4 separate regions of the Homo sapiens genome follow, and all the other regions are linked to region 1. Evidence: promoter capture Hi-C in human tissues and cell types (Jung and others, 2019). All regions are on one chromosome and are shown on one strand. Each heading gives the region's core, a stretch centred on a gene start or on the middle of the fragment in contact. The rest is flanking DNA. Distances are from core to core; before and after follow the strand shown.

Region 1 (4,054 bases), core at 306-2,805:
TCCAAGGGCCCCATAAAAGTTAAAAGCTGAGGGACTGGGCACAGGAAGACCCAGTGGGGGACATGTGGTGATGGGCAGAGGCCTGGGCTCCAGGCTGAGTGCAGCCCCTCTCCAGCTGAGGGAGGCTTTTCTGTGGCTGTTTCTCCACCTGCACAGTGGGATGACCGCCTTGGTGTGGCCTCGACTGCCTCTGGTTGGGGAGTTGTGAGGAGCCTTTGGACAGTGGATTATGTGGGTGAACTTTTGCTGCTGTGGTAGGAAAGCCCAGCGGTGATAAAGGGCCAGCTGATGGCTTAGAGTGGGTGGCTGGTCCAGAAGGTGGGCAAACTGCTCGCTACCACCGCCCTAGTTCAGGCCTGCAACCTCTTCCCTAGCCTTGACCTCATCCATCCTCCACCTTAACACTCAGCACCCTTAGAGATGCAAAGTTCCCCAGGCTAACACAGACCTGAGTGCCCTGCGCTACTGCTACCTCGAATCATCTGCGGTTCCTCGAATCACACATGCGGCGCCCCCTGGTGGGGAGACCTTTCGGTTGCTCACTGCCCTGAGCCGAGCTCTGCCCTCCTCCTAGGCTACCAGTTAGGGATCGGCAGGGACCACTTCCTGACTAAGGAGCTGCAGCGATACATCGAAGGGCTCAAGAAGCGCCGGAGCAAGAGGCTGTACGTGAATTAAAAACGCCACCTTGGGCTCGAGCAGCGACCCGAACCAGCCCCGTGCCAGCCCGGTCCCCAGACCCAAGCCTGACCCCATCCGAGTGGAATTTGAGTCCTAAAGAAATAAAAGAGTCGATGCATGGTCCGTGAGTCAGTGCAGGACAGCCCGCGTGAGGCGGACGCACGTGGCCCCGCCCTTCCCCGTGACCTTCATTCGGTCACCGCAGTGACCTTCATTCGGTCACCGCAGTGACCTTGAGCTTTCTCCGTCCGGGCCCTATCGGCCCTACCTTCCGGGACTCGCAATCCAGGACTTATTGCATGTTTTAAGTCGGCTTCACCCACCCCGAGTTCCGCAGCTCTGTGGGGCTACTGGGTCTACGGTTCGAGTGCTCAGTTGGTGTCGCTTTGGGGGAAGGGGGTAGGGGGAACGGGGCAGCACCTCCCTCCTCGCGACGGCGCGCTAGGCTCCGCCCCTCAAGCATAGGTAGCAGGTCCAGCCTCTCCGCTCGTCCCGCCCTTGCGTTTTCATCTGTAAGTGGTCTCTTGGCTCCGCGACTGCAGCCTGCACCGCCTCGCCCACTCCTCTCGCGCGCAGCAAGCCCCGCCTCCTCCGTTACGAAAGAGCGCTTCTGGCCCCACTTGCTCTCGGCTCTATTGTCCCCGCCCTCCGCGTCTCCGGCCCCGCCCCTCCCAGGGGCCGCGTACGCATGTGCGCCGCAGTGGCTCGGCGGGCTGCGGGGCGGGACCTGCACGAAGGCCCGCCCACTGGCGCTGCCGGCTCCGCCCCGACTCGTCCGGGCGCGCAGGCGCCGCCCGCCCCGCTGGTCTGATTAGCATAGGACCCCGGGCCCCGCCCCCTGCTTTGCATGCGCACGGCCGGCCCCACCCCCGCTGTCAGCTGGAGGAAGCGGAGTAGGAAGCGGCCGCGATGTCCTTTTGTGTCCTACAAGCAGCCGGCGGCGCCGCCGAGTGAGGGGACGCGGCGCGGTGGGGCGGCGCGGCCCGAGGAGGCGGCGGAGGAGGGGCCGCCCGCGGCCCCCGGCTCACTCCGGCACTCCGGGCCGCTCGGCCCCCATGCCTGCCCGACCGCGCTGCCGGAGCCCCAGGTCCGGGGGCGGAGGGGAGCGCTGCCGCGGGGGTGGGCGGGCGGGGCGCGGGGGCCATGTGCGAGCGCGGCAGGGAGGCGGGCGGGGCGGGCTGCAGGCGGGGTCCGACTCTGGGGCCAGTCCGGGCCACGGTTGGGACCCAGTCGAGGGTCGGACTGGTCAGGGTTCAGGCGGGATCCGGCGTCCGAGTCCTGGTGGGCCGGCCTGGGGCAGGATCTGGCTCTGGCTGCGGGTCCTGACTCGGGTCAGGGTTGGGCCTCCGATCCAGCCCGCTCCGGGGCAGGGTTCAATCCCGCATTTGCCGAAGTCCCTGGGGCTGGCCGGGGTGGAAGACGGGGAGGGCTCTATGTCTGGGAAGGGGCTCTGAAGACCACGTGGGGGCGCTCGAAGGGGCCTGGGGCCACCCTCCTCTCTGGGTCAAAGGTCATCGCACCGGCAGGGGAGAACTTCCTCCTCCTTGGCTCTCCCCACTTACTTCCTGATAACCTGGTAGAGGTCTCCCGCGGGCGGGGAGGGGGAGGCGTAGCAACTTTAGGCAACTTCCCAAAGGTGTGCGCAGGTTGGGGGCGGGACGCGGCGCCCCGGGAGGTGGCGGCCTCTGCGACAGCGGGAGTATAAGAGTGGACCTGCAGGCTGGTCGCGAGGAGGTGGAGCGGCGCCCGCCGTGTGCCTGGGACCGGCATGCTGGGGCAGGAGGGCAGCCGCGTGTCAGGTGTGAAAAGCTCTGGAGGTGTTTTCATGAGTCCGTGCCTGTGCGTGTGGATGTGGGGAGACCTAGTGAGAGTGTGTGTGATCATGAGCCTTGACTGAGTTCGTGGATGGGGTGTGCGCTCCAGGAGAAGTGTGTGAGCACAAGTGTGAGCAGGAGTGAGCACGGGTTTGGGAAGGCCGGTGCAAGTGTGAAAGCCCTCAGCAGAGAGCGAGCCTGCGTGGGCTTGTGGGGCTCCTGAGCACCCCGGTGAGTGGAGTGTGTGAACTCGGTGTGAGCACGTCCACTGGCCTTGGGTCTGCTCTCCAATGCAGAATACCCAGATGAGGGCAGGGTCTCAGAGGTCCCCCCAACATCTGGAGAAAACTGGGAAGTATCCTGCTCCTGGCTAGGGATTCCAGGTGGGGTTGAAGGTTGCCTGGGGGCTACGGTTACCCTGCTCCCTGGCCTGGGTGGGAGTAGGGGCTTTCTAAGCCTCCCCCAGGTTCCCAAGGGGGAGACCTGCTGTCAGTTACTGGCCCTGAAGACTCTGTTTCCATGGCAACAGCTAGGAGGGGGCAGTGTTCCTGGGCAGTCCTTCCTTGGACTCTGCCCCCCTTCTTCCCCACTTGCTGGGCTTGGAAGCCTGGCCCTAGGCCCGAGGTTGGGCAACCCGTGTGGCAGGGTGTCTCCCATCCCCCATACCAGTGCTTTCCTGCGAACCTATGGGTCTCTCCGTGCAGGTGACCAGCGCCATGTCCAGCCAGGTGGTGGGCATTGAGCCTCTCTACATCAAGGCAGAGCCGGCCAGCCCTGACAGTCCAAAGGGTTCCTCGGAGACAGAGACCGAGCCTCCTGTGGCCCTGGCCCCTGGTCCAGCTCCCACTCGCTGCCTCCCAGGCCACAAGGAAGAGGAGGATGGGGAGGGGGCTGGGCCTGGCGAGCAGGGCGGTGGGAAGCTGGTGCTCAGCTCCCTGCCCAAGCGCCTCTGCCTGGTCTGTGGGGACGTGGCCTCCGGCTACCACTATGGTGTGGCATCCTGTGAGGCCTGCAAAGCCTTCTTCAAGAGGACCATCCAGGGTGAGCCCCCAGCCCACTCCCCTGTCCTTTGCCCTGCACCCTCTGGGTACACTGCTGGGTGCAATAGGCCCCCTGATGGCTGTGGCACCGCTTGAGGCTAACAATCTGGTGTTTCCAGTCCCTCTACCTCCCAGAGACACTCTTTCCCTGAGAAGTATGGTAAAAGCACCGGGTGTGCTGATGCATTGCAGTGGATGTGAGTGAGTTCAGGGTACCACCTGGGTACTCTAGGCCCAGCACCTTCTACAGTGGCTCTGAAAGAGTCCAAGGCAGCCTCTGTCTGTTCCTAAGCTTTGTTCTTGTTTCTGGCAGCTTCTGACCTCTCCCCAGCATAGAACATGTCCCCTTTTTGTTAATTTTCCCAAAGCAGCACCAACACAAGGCAGATTTTAATTTTTTTTTTTTTGAGACAGAGTCTCACTCTGTTGTTCAGGCTAGAGTGCAGTGGCACAATCTCTGCTCACTGCAACCTTTGCCCCTGGGTTCAAGAGATTCTCCTGCCTCAGCCTCCTGAGTAG
Region 2 (5,444 bases), core at 2,945-5,444, 980 kb after region 1:
GCAATCTGCCTGCCTTAGCCTCCCAAAGTACTGGGATTACAGGCATGAGCCAGCATGCCTGGCAGTAATTGGATTTTGAAGGACAGTTTTACTTTAGGGTAGTCTACTGCTGCTTTGGGGAGTTCTCAGGCTTTTTGGAAGAAAGCTTTCTAGACTTAAGAGCATCTTTGCAACCTGGTATGTAGGGATGGTTCTTATAGACGTGCCAGCACCATTGCAGGAGTTATATTCTCCAAATGTCAATACAATGCTCTGAAACCTGTAGATCTGTTTACAACTGTCCTCATGTGAGCATCTTGCTGCATTAAAGGGCCTGCTGTAATGGATGGCTCATGGAGCTTCCCAGGGAAGAGCTTGGAGAAGCTGGCAAAATGCTGCCTAGTCATTTTTTAATGCACACTAATAAAGCTGACAGCAGAAACTGGTTTTGTAATGTATGAAAGTAACTTCTAAACTATTCACGTAGAGGTGGCACTGGAGATTGAGATAATTAATTGAGCTCATTTTCTGTAGGCTGTGAAAAGAAAGAATGATGGCATTAATTGCGATGGTGCCCCACATAAAACTGGTTCCCGCAGAGTTTCAGTGCATTAAACAAAGCCTGTTTTAAATAGACCTCTCTGTACGGCGTGTTTACAACCAGAGGATTAGAAGACCTCACTGTCATCTAAGCAGATCAGCAATATCCATGTGTTCTTAGAGGTATAATTTACCAGTCAGGGAGTGGAAATGTGAGAACTTGGCAGTTGAGCCTAGAAAAATGGGAATGTTTGCACATCACCAGACTGTTAATTCATTACTTACCCACCTCCATAGACACTGGGGAAAATTGATTAATTTGAATTTCATTTTATTGTTGTTTCTACCTTGAACCATATTGTGAGTTTTTATATATGCTCAGCAAGTTTTAGCTTATCCACAGTTGCAGGCTCAGATGATGTTCCAATAAATGCTAAAAATTCATGAGAAGAAAAAAATGGGACTTAAAGTTTGCCTTTTAATCAATTCAGAATCTGGGGATCTTTTTGCCTTGCTTAGTTTTAATGCCAAGAGAACGACAACTTTTTAAAATACGTTTCTGTCTCTAAACTTCTCTAAAAATGTTTGGTATTCCTCAGCCTGGTATTCCTCAGCCCTTCATTCCTGAAATTCCTTAAAGGTCTGGGTATGTCCAACCCCATTAAACTGATTCAATTTATAAACTATGAGGCCACCTTCCTTTTCTCCAGTCCCCATTTCCAAAGGTAACCTCATTTTATTCTTCTCTCCCTTTAGATATGAACACAGTAATATTAACCTGTTTTGCTTCCAATTAGTGCTACTCCCTCCCAGAAATACAACTCACGAAGTAACCGAGGAGAAGTGGTTACCTCCTTCGGCTTAGCACAGGGAGTATCTTGGTCTGGGAGAGGAGGAGCTGGAAACATCAGCCTGAAGGTCTTGGGATGTCCAGAGGCACTAACTGGGAGCTACAAATCCATGTTTCAGAAGCTCCCAGACATTCGAGAAGGTGATTGTTTTTCCCTTTGAAATTCTGGTGGATATAAAACCACCTAGAAGGGTGTAGAGTAACAAAGCTTCAGCTAGGCTGGTAGAACAAGTTCCAAGGTTGCCTTTCAATGTATGAGTTGGTAGATGTCCTCATGGAAGCCCTAGTAATGGAGGGACACGGGCAATACTATCAGTGATTGCCCCAAGTCACTTCACTTTGCTAAAACGCACATAACCATTCCCAGCAGCAAAAACTTGAACGATGTAAAGGAATTCAACTTAAAGATATTCATGGTTCCTTCGTTAGAAGCCTTCTTCAGGTTGGCCTTGACTTGCCTAAAACCTCAGTGAGGACTTGAGTAAAGGGCAGACTTGGAGATGGGGTGGGGTTCATGCTGATTCCCTGGAATTGTGCTATGGGGTCTCCTGTGGCCAGATGGAAGGCCAGATTCAGCAACCAAATATCGGAAAATTGGCAAAGGTTTTAGAAGGTTTAAACTGGCCAGATGTCCAGGCACCCTTCCTGCTTCTGTAAAATGACTGACTTTAATATTTTACAATGTGCTGTATTTTCTCTTCTTGGCAAGTGAAATGTCTTAAACATAATACTTTTTTCCACTTCTGGGATTGTAGTTCTGACCTGTAAGATAGAAGAACTTGGCAGCGAACTCAAGGAACATTACAAGATTGAAGCTTTCACTCCTTTGCTAGCCCCAGCACAGGTAAGAGTTGTTCTAATAGTTCTCACTAATTAATATTACGTTTTTAAATCGATGACCAAGAGGCATCCTTCTTGCTTCCTTTTTCACTTCTTGTCTGTGTTCTAGTTTGAACATCTGTCTTGGTTGAATTTGGGAAAATGGGCCCTTCTGAAGAAAGATTTGTAAGTGCTGTCTGGTTTTGTGGCCAGAGAGTGATTTTCTTCCCACTTGGATTAGAGTCTTGCACATAAGCAGAGACTCAAGGCCTTGTTTCCCTTGGTGGTGAGTCAGGTAGCTCCCCGGGGATTTCCCACAAATAGAAGCATTCACGTATCGAGATAAAAGGACAGCAGCGACGGTGGGGTTTTCAGAATCTTGTTCTCTGGACAATGACTCACAGTCTCTCCCCTGGTTTGGTCTCTTGTTATAGACAAACTGCTGCCAATAGTATCTTTATATCATAGTTTAATCTGGCATATATACCAGTGCTTTCTCTCTAGAATGTTTTCTAATCTAAGGGGAAATATATTCTAGAAGTTTCTTTAAAGTACCTTTGTCAATGTTTACATTCAAAGAATGATCAGTTGGGGAAGTGATGCAGAACTGTGTCATAGAAGGAAGTGTTAGAGGACTTGGAAGGAAGTAATTGAGGGAAGGCAGGGAGGCACAATCACTGGGAAAGATGAGACTTCCTCTGTTTTCTCCCAAGAGTGGGAACAGAACAGAGGAAGCCATGGAGACAGAGATTTTAGCTCAATTAATAAAGAACTTCCTGTTAAGAGGTTGTATGGTATGTGGCTAAGGATATGGCTCTAGAGCCAAATTTCTGGTTTCAAACCCAAGCTTCACCCACAGTTTGACCTTGACTAAATTATCTAACCTTTCTGTTGCTTGTTTTCCTCATCTGTAAAATGGATACAGTAATATCCACCCGATGGTTGTTGCAAGGATTAAATGAGTTAATACATATAAAATGCCTAAGAATACATTTTAGAACAGTGCATGGTATTTAGTAAGCTCAAGAAATGTTAGCTATTATTAAGTAGTTATAGCTGCCCAAAGATGCAGTGGGCTGCCCTGGGGTGGTGAGGACAGGGTGGGGTAGGCATCCAGGGGCAAGTTCCCCTACACTAGAGATGCTCACACTTAGGCAGCCTCCTAGGAAGGCTCAAGTGCTGGGTGGATGGGTGGACAAGATGCCCTTTCAGAGTTCTTCCATCCTGAGAGTCAGTGATGACGCGGTAGTCACCTCAGGGTCAAAGCAATGCCCTGCCAAGAAATGTATTTGTTGTTTGCAGTTTGTTTTGCTATTCACCCTATCGACTTCAGATTTTGAGCTCCTGCTCCAAAGACTGTCATTCTTATGCTGTGACCTTCCTTTGGTAGGAGCCTGTCACTCTGCTGGGCCAGATTGGCTGTGATAGCAACGGGAAGCTGAACAACAAGTCAGTGATTCTCGAGGGAGACCGGGAACATTCCTCGGGTGCTCAAATTCCAGTGGATTTATCTGAGCTTAAGGAATATTCTCTGTTTCCTGGACAGGTGAGATTGGAGGAGTTCCACCAGAATGCAGGCGCACTCTTTACCCCTGTAGTGTAGGTGCTGTGCCATGCGCAGCTGCTCCTCAGTTCCTGTCTCTGCTGCCATGGGGTGCAGCTGGAGCACATGCCCCAGAGCAGACACCACTGTTGGGATTCCTGTTTCCCCCATGCTCTGACCCAGGCTCTGGGACCTGACTGCGCAGCCTCAAATCCCAACTCCCCGCTCCATGAGGTGCATGACTGTGCACAAGGTACTTAACCATCTAAACTACAGTTTCTTCACTCACAAAATGGAAATAATAATTCTTACCTCATAGGATTGTTGTGAAAATTAGATCACTTATATAGAGCATAATTATTATTACTAATGCAACGCCCTTAATTCGTTTTCTACAAAAATGCCCTAAGTTTATGATTACAGAATGAGAGTAGTTGGACAATGCTTTTAACTGCCTCAAAATAATGTATTCCAGACCTCATTGATCTCCACTGCTTAGCAATCCTGTTTGTTTTTGTCTTTCAGGTTGTAATTATGGAAGGAATCAACACCACTGGTAGGAAACTTGTTGCCACCAAACTCTACGAGGTACACAGCAGTACCCCCACTTGCCTCTTGGTTTGCTTCAGACAAAGTATGTCTGGAAGCTGTCTGTTCTAGAAACTGGTCCTTTTTAGGAGCCCATTTATTTGTTAGTCAGTTCTCCATCTGTAAGTGGGAACCCACCCCTAGGCCAGGGGTCAGCAAACCCTTTCTATAAAGGGCCAGACAGTAACTCTTTTAGACTTTGTAGCTATATGGTCTCTGTCACAATGACTCAATTCTGCCTTTGTCTACAAAAGCAGCCATAGAGGACTCTTAAACAGATGACTGTGGCTGTGTTCCCATAAAACTTTATTTAAATAGTGGGCTGCAGCCAAATTTGGCCCAGAGGCCGAAAGGTTACCTATCCCTGCTCTAGGCAACAATCCTCCAGAGATTTTCGTAGAATGCCAGGAAAAGTAGCAAGAAACCATTCTCTCCCATCCTTGCCTAGAAGTACACTGATACTTTAGGCACCTGTTTTGCTCCCACTTGTTGCTGGGTATTTTATGACAATTGAGTAGTGACCTCCCATTACCTGGGTTTCTTTGCCCTCTGAGCAGTATAGAAAAATGGCAGGTCCCATCAGATCCAGGGAGCAAGACAGAGGCACATCCTTCCCCTGCCCTCTCGCTCCTCCCCACTGTCCTCCCATCACACACCTGCACCACCCCCAACCTGGTGCCCTCCCCTTTCCTTACCAAGGTGATGCCTGGCGCAAGACCTTACTTGAGCTTTTCCCCTGTTTTTAGGGTGTGCCACTTCCATTTTATCAGCCCACTGAAGAGGATGCAGGTGAGTTTCGGTTCAAATATTGTTTTGCCAACAATGAGGATGGTAGACATGAGTCCAGGAGTGCAGTTTCCCAAGCCCAAGAAAGCTGCAGAAGCTGCTGAAGAGCAATGTGACCAAGCAGTGAGGGCGCCACCATCATGAGTTCGTAGGTTTTTTGTCACAAGACCCCTGGTCTGAGCCCAGTGAGCGTTGGTCGTGCTGTCGCCTGAGTTCTGCCTACATGAAGCATGTTGTTTAAAGACTAATGTTTAACAGGTATTTTTGAAGGTTGCCTTGGAAAGGAAAAGATGTACGATTTCAAAAAGAATTTATTTACATGCAGCATGGGCAGATGCG
Region 3 (5,444 bases), core at 2,096-4,595, 800 kb after region 1:
TTACCACCCAGTCCCCTCCCAAGGTAGCCAACATCCTCGCATCCAGATGGCTTTCACTCTCCCTGGTTACAAACTGCTTTTCTTAACAAGCTTTTTTTTTTTTTTTTTTTTGAGACAGAGTCTTGCTCTGTCATCCAGGCTAGAGTGCAGTGGCCCAATCGGCTCACTGCAACCTCCGCCTCCGGGGTTCAAGTGATTCTCCTGTCTTAGGCTTCCAAGTACCTGGGATTACAGGCACCTGCCACCACACTTGGCTAATTATTGTATTTTCAGTAGAGACGGGATTTCACCATGTTGGTCAGGCAGGTGACCTCAGGTGATCCACCTGCCTTGGCCTCCCAAAGTGCTGGGGTTACAGGCGTGAGCCACTGTGCCCAGCCTGCTTTTCTTAACAAGCTTGAAATGCAAAGATAAACAGTGTAGTCTTTGTGACTGAATGGTGTGGATGCTTTCACTGTTGTTTTTGGATATGGTACAACTTTTATCTCCAGTGTAATGGCTCCATGGCTGGGAAGGCAGCGACAATGACAGCACACAGCACTGTTGGGTTTTCTTTTACTCTATTTTCCTAACAACTTAGTGTTTGGATTTTACCCTTTAGAAGTTGGATTCAAGCTTCCTTCTTGAGGTAGCCCCTAAGTGTCATGGGCTCAAACACCCACTACCAAAAGAGTCTGCTCTTTTCATGGTAGCTTTTGGCAGACCTGGAAGGAGATTGTGTCACATGGCCTGTAAACAAAACCAGTAATTCACTGGGTGAAGACCAAATGCCTCATCAACTGCCAAGCCTCTGTCTGTCTCCCTTAGATCAGTAGCCCATGATCCCTTTACGAACCTCAGCCTCGGCTCTGCTTTTATTGTTTTTCACTGCATAGCGCTGCCTTTGCTATGTCCTTTAGTTCACCATCTATGAATTGGCAAGAAAAATTTTCTTGCCAGGCACAGTGGCTCACTCCTGTGCTCCCAGCACTTTGGGAGGCTGAAGTGGGAGCATTGCTTGAGCCCAGAAGTTTGAGACCAGCCTGGGCAACATAGAGAGACCCCATCTCTACACAAAATTTAAACAAAAATTAAAAAATTAGCCGGGTGTGATGGCGCTTGTGTGTAGTCCCAGCTACTTCAGAAGCTAAGGTAGGAGGATCACTTGAGCCCCAGAGTTCAAGGCTGCAGTAAGCTGTGTTTGCACCACTGCATGCCATCTTGGCTCACTGTAACCTCCGCCTCCCCAGTTAAGGTGATTCTCCTGCCTTAGCCTCCTGAGTAGCTGGGATTATAAGTGTGCATCACCATGCCTGTAGACAGAGCAAGACCCTATCTCAAGCAAAGAAACTCAAAATAATTATGATTTCCCCAACAAAATGCAGGCAATGGTCCCTATGGTCCCAAAAGTAATATAGATGTTTCACATCATGTGATTTTATTCCTTAGTAACCTTCCTTTCTATGAAATCATCTCTAAGAGGGCTAAATGATCCTTTCTTGTGGACTGTGTTGTTAAAATGAAAAGTCCATTTTGCTGATACGTAATCTACCTTTCCATGTAATTTTTTAAAAAATCCCTTAATAGCTCTACAGATGTGAGCCCTGTAGATTCTTTGTCTCAGACAGTTCTTTCTCTTATATTTTCTCTAATATTTTTTTCCTGCATTTTTTGTTTCTGTTTGTTTCTTGTCAAATTGACATCAATGCTTTTCTCCTTACTCACCCTTCCAGCTGTCTCCCCAAGTGGGGTAGATTCCCAGTGTTGCTTGGAGAACATTCCTACAGTCCCAGAGCCACACACAGACCAGGTGTGGGTGTGTGAAGGCTCACAAGTGATTGCAGTTAGATATTTCCAGATTCTTCTTTGTAAATGCTGATCAGTTTGCATAACCACCAGCAAAGAAGAGAATACCTCTTTCAATCTTTGACAATCTGAGAAGTGAAAAGTGGTATCTCTTATTGTTTATAGTAACGTTTACAGGGTGTTTTTTTTTGTTTTTTTTTTTTAGGGCTTTCTATTTATTCAATTATTATTATTTGAGACAGAGTGTTGCTCTATTACTCAGGTTAGAGTGCAGTGGCACAATCTCAGCTCACTACAACTTGTGCCTCCAGGGTTCAAGCGATTCTCCTGCCTCAGCCTTCCCAGTAGCTAGGATTACAGGCACCTGCCACCACGCCCAACTACTTTTTGTATTTTTACTAGAGACAGGGTTTTACCATGTTGGCCAGGCTGGTCTCAAACTCCTGACGTCAAGTGATCTGCCTGCCTCGGCCTCCCAAAGTGCTGGGATTACAGGCATGAGCTACCGTGGCTGGCCTATTTATTTGATTATATCATCTGCAAATAGTGATACTTCTCCCTCCTTTCCAATTTGTGTATCTCCATAATACATCTCGTGACTCTAGCTGAGTTGGCTAATGCCCCAGAACAATGTAGATAACATTGGCAATCAAGGTTGTCCTTGCCATGTTTTGACTTTAATTGGAGTGCTTCTAGCACTGCCTCGGTAAACATGATACTGAGTTTTGGAGGTCAGGGAAATATTTAGCTGCTCATATGTTATTGAGAGTTTTTTAAAAATCAAGAATAGATGTTGAAATATCTATTAACATGGCAAATTATTATGAGATCCTCTAATTTTGAGTCATCCTGGCATTCATGAAACAAAAACCCTTTTGTGTTTATCAATTATTATTTTAATATGCTGCTGGATTTTGTTTGCTTATTTGTGCATCTCCATTTGTTTATTTAATTCATCCTTGCATCTCCATTCATAAGAGATATGAATGTGTATATGTGAGGTATTTCTGTTATGTTTTCATAACAGTGTTATGTTTGTTCCATCAAGTTTGTGTGAGAGCTGTTCTCGTTTCTCTGCTGGGGCAGTGTTTACACAGAGAATTGGAAGGCGCTGTCCTTCAAGCCGCCGCAACACCCCTGGACATCTGGGCCAGATGCCTTTGTGTGGAGGGGAAAGGGGAGTAGGACCTTTCTTTCACAACATTCTCTAGTTTTTCTGTTTCTGTTTTCTTGTTTTTTGCAATCCATTTTGGTAAATCCTATTTTTGTAGCAAATTATCCATTTCATCCATAGAATTCACCAAGCCCTTACCAATTTAGTGTTTTCTTGGTATTTTACCCATGCTGCAATTTCAGTTTTGATTTCCTTTTCTGACCTCATAATTGGTTAACAATGAGGTTTTTTCGACTGGGCACGGTGGCTCCCGCCTGTAATCCCAGCACTTTGGGAGGCCGAGGCGGGTGGATCACTTGAGGTCAGAGACCAGTCTGGCCAACATGGTGAAACCCTCTCTACTAAAAGTACAAAAATTAGCCAGGCATGGTGGCACGTGCCTGTAATCCCAGCTACTCGGGGCTGAGGCAGGAGAATCGCTTGAACCCAGGAGGTGGAGGTTGCAGTGAGCTGAGATCGCGCCACTGCACTGCAGCCTGGGCGACGGAGGGAGACCCTGTCTCAAAAAAAAAAAAAGAATGAGGTTTTTTTCTTTGTGATCTACCATATGGAAAGGTTTGTATATATTTTATGGCATTGTTTGGGAAAAATGCAAACTGTGTGCTTCCTATGCTCTCACATCACCACAATCATGACCACAGAAGAGTTCTGTGACCAAATGTGTTGGGTTTCTTCCCCACACACCAAGCAGCAGACACCCGCTGGGTGTCCTCTGATTTAATTCCAACACTATTTACCCAGAGATAGCATCAGATTCCATGAGTTGAGGGCTGAGTCCCCAAGCCTGCCTCCCTTCAGGCACTAGTTCAGTCCCAAATCTGCCTCCCCACTTTCAGGCACTAGCTGCAGGTCAGGGCCTCAGGCCTCCAGAATTTCTGACCAACTGGCTCCAGGTAGGGGTTTCCATAACTCCCTCTTTGGGCTCAGTTTGCTGGAGTGGCTCACAGAGCTCAGGATAACACATTTACCAGTTTATTACAAAGGATGTTACAAAGGGTACAGATGAGCAGGTGCATAGGGCGAGGTGTAGGAGAAGGAGCATGGAGTTTCCATGCCCTCCCCGGGCGTGCCACCCTCCAGGAGCCTCCAGAGCTGAGATCGCGCCACTGCACTCCAGCCTGGGTGACAGAGTGAGACTCTTTCTCAAACAAAACAAAACCAAAATATCTCCTGTTACAGATACACATTTCTGTCTTATCCTCTTCGCCTTTCTTTATGAACATTGTTGGTATGTTCAATGGAATTAGGGAAATTAGTTGGGAAATGTTGGCAGTTGTTGGACAAGAGATGATAGTGGCTTACAAAGAAAATGTTGCAGGTAGACCTTCCATGACTTGGTAATGGATTGATTACTAGGTATATTAATCCAGGTTCATACTGCTGTAAAGAACTGCCCGAGACTAGGTAACTTATAAAGGAAAGAGGTTTAATTGACTCACAGTTCACAGCATGGCTGGGGAGGCCTCAGGAAACTTACAATCATGGCAGAAGGTGAAAGAGAAGCAAGGCATCTTCTTCACAAGGCAGCAGGAAGGAGAAGTGTTAAGCGAAGCAGGGAGAGCCCCTTATAAAACCATCAGACCTCGTCGGGTGCGGTGGCTCATGCCTGTAATCCCAGCACTTTGGGAGGCCAAGGTGGGCGGATCATGAGGTCAGGAGATCAAGACCATCCTGGCTAACATGGTGAAACTCCATCTCTACTAAAAATACAAAAAATTAGCTGGGTGTGGTGGCAGGCACCTGTAGTCCCAGCTACTTGGGAGGCTGAGGCAGGAGAATGGTGTGAACCTGGGAATTGGAGTTTGCAGTGAGCAGAGGTCGTGCCACTGCACTCCAGTCTGGGCGACAGAGCGAGACTCAGTCTCAAAAAAAAAAAAAAAGAATAGGTGGAATTGAATTGAGGCCGTCAGTGAACAGTCAGGAACATTGGAAGGCTCATCCATGTGGATGTGCACAAGGAGGTGACAGGAGGAGGAGAAGAGGCAGTGATGGGGAACTGAGAGGAGTGTCAGAGGACAGTAGAGACAGCAAAGAGGAGGGTTGTGGCTTGATGGCATGGTCTTCCTAGAAGCCGGGGTTTTGAAGAGAGGAGATCTAGGCATGATTTAGAAGCATGAAGGGACCAGGCTCCCAGGCACCTGGTGTGTGAAAGGAAAAACAGCCTCCCTAGGCAGGATTCTATCAGGACCAAAGGGAAAGGGCCCTTCAGAGAAGACAGCCCATGTTCCGGAAAGCATGTGAAAGGCTTTGGGAGGTCTGGAAAGGAGATGAGGGTCAACAAGAATGTATTGCCTCATCCAGGCAGTGCGCTGGACACGCAGATGCGCTTGGGAGCCAGCGGTCCCTGCCTTGGCTGCTTGTGGTCTGATGGAGCAGTTGAGGCACAGTGGTGGCAGCTGGCTAAGCACCTGCGGCCTGCTTCGGATCTGGACTAATTCTGAGGGCCGGCTCTCCTGGGCACCAGGGTTAGGGGGTTACGGGGAGT
Region 4 (5,444 bases), core at 2,072-4,571, 630 kb before region 1:
CATTCAAAGAGTTCTGAATACAAAGTAACCAACCAGTCACAGAAACACTTTGCTGAGTAGATTCATGTATGACTCAGGGTAAAGTTATGACCTGAGTTTTCCAGTCTCCTTATAAAATATCATATTCTCCAAAGGGCAAGAGCAACACACCCAAAACAGAGGCATACCATTTTCATGCCTTGTTCTTGCTGGCAGTCTTTAAGGTTTCTAACTGACAAAGCCAGAGAAAACATCATCACAGGCAAGAGTAAGTATACTAAGACCTTAGCCAACTCTAGAACTGCTGGGTGTGGTTCCTTCTGGTGGTGGAGGGGTGGGTGCTTTTATATACCGTTTTGTCTTAAGGCAGTGATTGTGCCAGTAGATACACTGCAATACGCTTAAGGCTGTTTCAGTGAAAATACTATTTAAATCTAATTAACCAGAATACTGGGCAAATTTTATATTTGTCTGTTGTAGAAAATCTTTTCGCCATAGCACAGAAGGCTGAACAAAACCATATTTTTTGTTGTTGACTAAGGATTGTGTAATGCTTCATAGGTTTACAAAAATTATCTATGACTAAATGGTACTGAAGATTCAGAAAATCCAAGGAGAGGGCTGAATCTGAAAATGATGCCAGGCTATATCACAAGTGGAGGAAAAAAACCTTTTTAATGGAATGAGCTCAGTAACACTTTTGTATCTCTTTCCTAAGAATAAGAATGCCACCAAAGGTTTGAATTAGCTGTGTTCCTTTTTTTTTTTTTTTTTTTTTTTTGAGACAAGGTCTCACTCTGTTGCCTAGGCTGGAGTGCAGTGGCAAGAACAAGGCTCACTGCAGAAAAAAGAAAAAAAAAAAGGCTCACTGCAGCCAACTTCCTGGGCTCACTCCATCCTCTCACCTCAGCCTCCTGAGTAGCCAGAACTACAGGCCTGCAACACCACGTTGGCTAACTTTTTTTTAATTTTTTTTTGGGTGGGGGGGGGCGTCTCACCATGTTGGCCAGGCTGGTCTTGAACTCCTGACCTCAGGTGATCCACCTGCCTCAGCCTCCCAAAATGCTGGGATTACAGGAGTAAACCACAGCTCCCGGCCAAGTAAGGATTTCCTAATTAGCGCCTACTATACCAGGAAAGCCTGTCTTCTAATCTGTTAACATACTTCAGCTGTGAAATATATCTAAGGTGTTCTGACAATCGAAATACCACGCAACTGGGCCAGGCGCCGTGGCTCACACCTGCAATCCCAGCACTTTGGGAGGCCGAGCTAGGAGGATCACCTGAGGTCAGGAGTTCAAGATCAGCCTGGCAAACATGGTGAAACCCCGTCTCTACTAAAAATACAAAAATTACCCAGGCGCGGTGGAGGGCGCCTGTAATCCCAGCTACCTGGGAGGCTGCGGCAGGAGAATCGCTTGAACCTGGGAGGCGGAGGTTGCAGTGAGCAGAGATCGCGCCATTGCACTCCACCCTGGGCGAGAGAGCAAGACTCCTTCTCACCAGAAGAAAAAAAAAGAAAAGAAAAAGAAAATTAAGCTAGTACACAACACCACATCTATCCCGTTACTTCTATTTCATGAATTCTACTACAATGAGGTAGTAAACTGTAGCTAATACAATAATGGGCCGGGCACGATGGCTCACGCCTGTAATCCCAGTACTTGGGAGGCCGAGGAGAGGAGGGTGGTTCACCTGAGGTCAGGAGTTCGAGACCAGCCTGGCCAACGTGGTGAAACCCCGTTTCTACTAAAAATACAAAAAATTAGCTGGGCCTGGTGGCGGATGTCTATAATCCCAGCTACTCGGGAGGCTGACGCAGGAGAATCATTTGAACCCAGGAGGCGGAGGGTGCAGTGAGCCGAGACTGCGCCACTGTACTCCAGTTTAGGTAGCAAAAACGAAACTCCGTCTCAAAAAAAAATAGCCGCGCATGGTGGAGAGCGCCTGTAATCCCAGCTACCCGGGAGGATGAGGCAGAAGAATTGCTTGAACCCAGGAAGCGGAGGTTGCAATCAGCCGAGATCGCGCCATTGCACTCCAGCCTGGGTGACCAGAGCAAAACTCCGTCTCAAAAAATAATAATAAAACAATGTGCTGGACTACTGCAATACTGAGATCCTTCTCAGCCAAGTGTTTACAGGTGTTAGAGCGGCAACAGGAATTTCTGGAGTACAAGCTAATCTCTGTGGGAATGGAAAAAAAAAAGCACTAATTTGAATTTCAGTACCTATGTTGCAATGCTAAATTCTTGACAGGGATTAGTACTCCGTAGGTTATGCTTCTTAAATCTCCAAAAGTAAGCCAATATGTGAAATCGTACATTTTTGGTCCGTTATTCTAAGACTGACAAAACGTTCCATTGCTTCGTATTTGAATTTGAGAACTGAGACTCATTTAAAAATTCTTCACTGTTCTTTTCCTTTTTGCTCTTCGATTTCGCAAGTGAAACGGTCATTTCAACAGCACACACATTACACTAGAATAAAGCCAAGTAAAATGACAGACTAAATCAGATCCGTGAATACACGGTGACTCCTTATTTGGTTTTTAATACTTTCACTATGTTTCATGTCTTCGGGAAAGCAAAAGAACAACGTACTGTGCCAAAAGCACTAACTTACGAAAAACCAATTTAGACCAATTCTTTACAGCGTTAAGTATGGGTTGAAAACCAACTTTCCTAATACTTGTGGTCAGTGCCTCAAGGTCGTTAGGATAAAAATAAAGCTTCCAAGACACTTCGCAGCCTTCCAGCACTTCCAGAAAGGCCAAATAAACCAGCATTCACCTTCCCGCTCCATCCAGGCCCCGATTCTCCGACCAGAGAGGGCGCTGAGTGCCCGGGCACGGAGGGGCAGCGCCCTGGGGCGCCCGGCTCTGCCCAGGGCGGGGCTCGGCGGGGCCGAAGCTCCGGACGCCGCCCACGGGGACCACCGGCCCTTGGGCCGCCCAGGGGCAGCTGCAGCCCAGGGGAGGAGCTGGAGGAGCCCCCGGCGGCACCAGGGCCCGAGCCCTGACGGCGGCCGCCCCCGGCCGAAAAGTAAGGAAGGTGCCGCCCTCGCTGGACCAGCTGGGCCCGAAGAGGGGCCCCCCCACCACAAATTCGGAAACCGAGTGACCCCGGCGAGGGACGCGCGGTCCCAGCCCCGGGACGAGGAAGGGCGGCGGCGCGGGCGGGGGTTCTTTTCAGAACTACAGCAGGGAAGGCGGCGGGGGTGGCCGCGGGGCGATCCAGGGAAAATCGGCGCCTCACCTGCTCCTCTTGAGGCAGCTGCTGCCACTCGCTGAGGGGACAACATGGAGCCTCCGCCTTCAAAGCAGAAGCAGCAGGGGTGCAGAGGAGAGGGACGGGTGCGGGCGGGAACGAACCGGGCCCTGGAAGCGGGAAACGGGCGGAGCCTGGGCTCTAGAAAAAACTAGCCAGAAGGTGGGGCACGCGGAGCCGCGACGGAGCGAGCGCAGCGCGGTCTGCGTGGCCCAACGGACAGCCCGAGGCGTGGCGAGCGCAGGACGAGGCTAGGCGAGGCGGGGCGGGAAAGCGCACGCGGCAGAATCCCGCCACCGCCTGCCGCGTGTGCGCGAAGCGAGCCGCCGGGTACCTGTTGGCGGGGCGCTGAGTGCTACCGTCCTTTGGGAATTGTAGTCCCGCGCTCACTGGGTCCCGGCCAGCGGTCCTCATACTGCGCACTCATCTGGGGCGGGGCTTGGCGTGGTTCTCCGACGACTGAACTACAACTCCCAGCAGGCTGTGCGGGAAGGGGCGGGCTGGCTCGGGTCCTCCTGCGAGCTGCGGCCGGCGCCTAACGTGCAGACCAGGCCCCAGGCCGAGGCTTTATCCTGGAACCACCAGTGTGAGAGACAGCTTTGGTGTTTAACTAGGCCTGGGACCACAGGTGGGCAGAAGAGAGGCCTCAACCCTGGATGGCATGAACGTCACTGGGTCTTTAATGATTTTGACTTCATAAGGGCAGGTGGCCGTGACTTCATTACCACCTTTATTATCATCTCCCTATATTCCTGTCCCTGGCCATGGCTGATGCGCACCATCACCGCTCTGATAGCTAATGTAAGAAGTCCAGGCCGGGCGCCGTGCCTCACGCCTGTAATCCCAGCACTTTGGGAGGCCGAGGCGGGTGGATCACCTGAGGTCGTGGGCGTTCGAGACCAGCCTGACCAACATGGAGAATCCCCGTCTCTACTAAAAATACGAAATTAGCCAGGCGTAGTGGCGCACGCTTGTAATCCCAGCTAGTCCAGAGGCTGAACAGGAGAATCGCTTGAACCCAGGAGGCGGAGGTTGCAGTGAGCCGAGATCGCACCATTGCACACCAGCGTAGGCAACAGGAGCAAAACTCCATCAAAAAAAAAAAAAAAAAACTTGCACGCACATCCCAGCATTCTCTGCTCCTTTTCCCTGCATTACTTTTCTCCAAAAGACTTCATACCACTTGGCCAGGCGCGGTGGCTCACGCCTGTAATCCCAGCACTTTGGGAGGCTGAGGTGGTTGGATCACCTGAGGTCGGGAGTTCAAGACCAGCCAGGCTAACATGGTGAAACCCCATCTCTTCTAAAAATACAAAAAATTAACCAGGCGTGGTGGCAGGCGCCTGTAATCCCAGCTACTCGGGAGGCTGAGGCAGGAGAGGTTGCATTGAGTGGAGATGGCACCACTGCACTCCAGCCTGGGAGAAAGAGCAAGACTCCATCTCAAAAAAAAAAAAAAAAAAAAAGACTTCCTGCTACTATCTGACTTATGTTTTACCTTTCATTGTGTTTGTCTCTTCCCACTGAATGTAAGTTCCAAACAGATAGGAATTTTTGTCTGTTTTGTTTACTTGTATATCCCCAGTCCCTAAATACTGCTGGCAGATAATAGAGACTCAAATATCTATTGAATTAATGGATGAAGAAGATATATGTTACATCTAACACTGCTCACTCACTTTCTGGTTCCTTTAATATTAAATACCTAACTTTTACTATTGAACAAAATACCCTAGTTTATTTTAAGGGCTCCCCAGAGATTCACTGAAATCCAACTTCTCAGGAAGTGACCAGCAAATACTGATATATGTCTCAATATTACATCATCAAGGTATCAAGGTCAATGTTAGCACATCAGCATTGTAGCCCTTGTAGAAGCTTTTGGCATTTGGAACAAAACAGTACAAATTATAGGTGGACTTAAGGATTAGTCACAACTTAGAAAGCAACCCCTGTAAATGAGAAACATGTTTTGTGTTATTTCCTTCTCAAATATCCAGGGTCATCAAAACACTGGACATTGAAAGTGCCAAATATTGACAATACTGGTTACAGCCTGCCTTCAGCTATCTCACTCTGAATTGAGTTATGTGCTATGATCAGAGGTTGAGCTTCCCTTGAGGTTTTCCAGAAGTAGGTGACATGTAGACATATTTGAGTGGACAGACTACTGGCTTTGGGGTCAGACTTACCTGGC

The links. Contacts are between HindIII fragments. The study calls those that stand out against the background at their distance.
Region 2: a contact is called between a fragment that was not itself captured here and the fragment with the promoter of ESRRA in region 1, in 1 of the 25 tissues and cell types used here (dorsolateral prefrontal cortex).
Region 3: a fragment that was not itself captured here is called in contact with the fragment with the promoter of ESRRA in region 1 in 2 of the 25 tissues and cell types used here (hippocampus and liver).
Region 4: a contact is called between the fragment with the promoter of ATL3 here and the fragment with the promoter of ESRRA in region 1, in 1 of the 25 tissues and cell types used here (thymus).

What each region holds. Positions count from the first base shown.
Region 1 is chr11:64,303,969-64,308,022 of GRCh38, forward strand. It overlaps ESRRA (estrogen related receptor alpha), which reads left to right and starts at 1,556. Exons shown (of 7, transcript NM_004451.5): 1 at 1,556-1,768; 2 at 3,200-3,536. The coding sequence starts at 3,212. CATSPERZ (catsper channel auxiliary subunit zeta) reads left to right here. Exons shown (of 5, transcript NM_001039496.2): 5 at 575-802. The coding sequence ends at 678. It overlaps KCNK4-CATSPERZ (KCNK4-CATSPERZ readthrough (NMD candidate)), which reads left to right. Exons shown (of 11, transcript NR_133662.1): 11 at 575-801. RefSeq lists a silencer at 1,263-1,772 and an enhancer at 2,183-2,252. The HindIII fragment of the contact is 12,153 bases long and covers 1-4,054 here.
Region 2 is chr11:65,277,414-65,282,857 of GRCh38, forward strand. POLA2 (DNA polymerase alpha 2, accessory subunit) reads left to right here. Exons shown (of 18, transcript NM_002689.4): 6 at 1,317-1,510; 7 at 2,125-2,213; 8 at 3,579-3,734; 9 at 4,257-4,319; 10 at 5,066-5,108. Among named protein-coding and RNA genes, the nearest start is that of POLA2, 18 kb to the left of the region's middle. RefSeq lists an enhancer at 1,857-3,056. The HindIII fragment of the contact is 6,666 bases long and covers 862-5,444 here.
Region 3 is chr11:65,101,927-65,107,370 of GRCh38, forward strand. All of the region lies in intron 2 of VPS51 (VPS51 subunit of GARP complex), which reads left to right. Among named protein-coding and RNA genes, the nearest start is that of TM7SF2, 7.2 kb to the right of the region's middle. RefSeq lists a silencer at 311-605. The HindIII fragment of the contact is 6,205 bases long and covers 244-5,444 here.
Region 4 is chr11:63,668,055-63,673,498 of GRCh38, forward strand. ATL3 (atlastin GTPase 3) reads right to left here and starts at 3,322. Exons shown (of 13, transcript NM_015459.5): 1 at 3,236-3,322. The coding sequence starts at 3,281. RefSeq lists enhancers at 2,687-3,188, 3,189-3,688, 3,729-3,838 and silencers at 2,849-3,108, 3,139-3,198, 3,519-3,638. The HindIII fragment of the contact is 6,643 bases long and covers 1-5,428 here.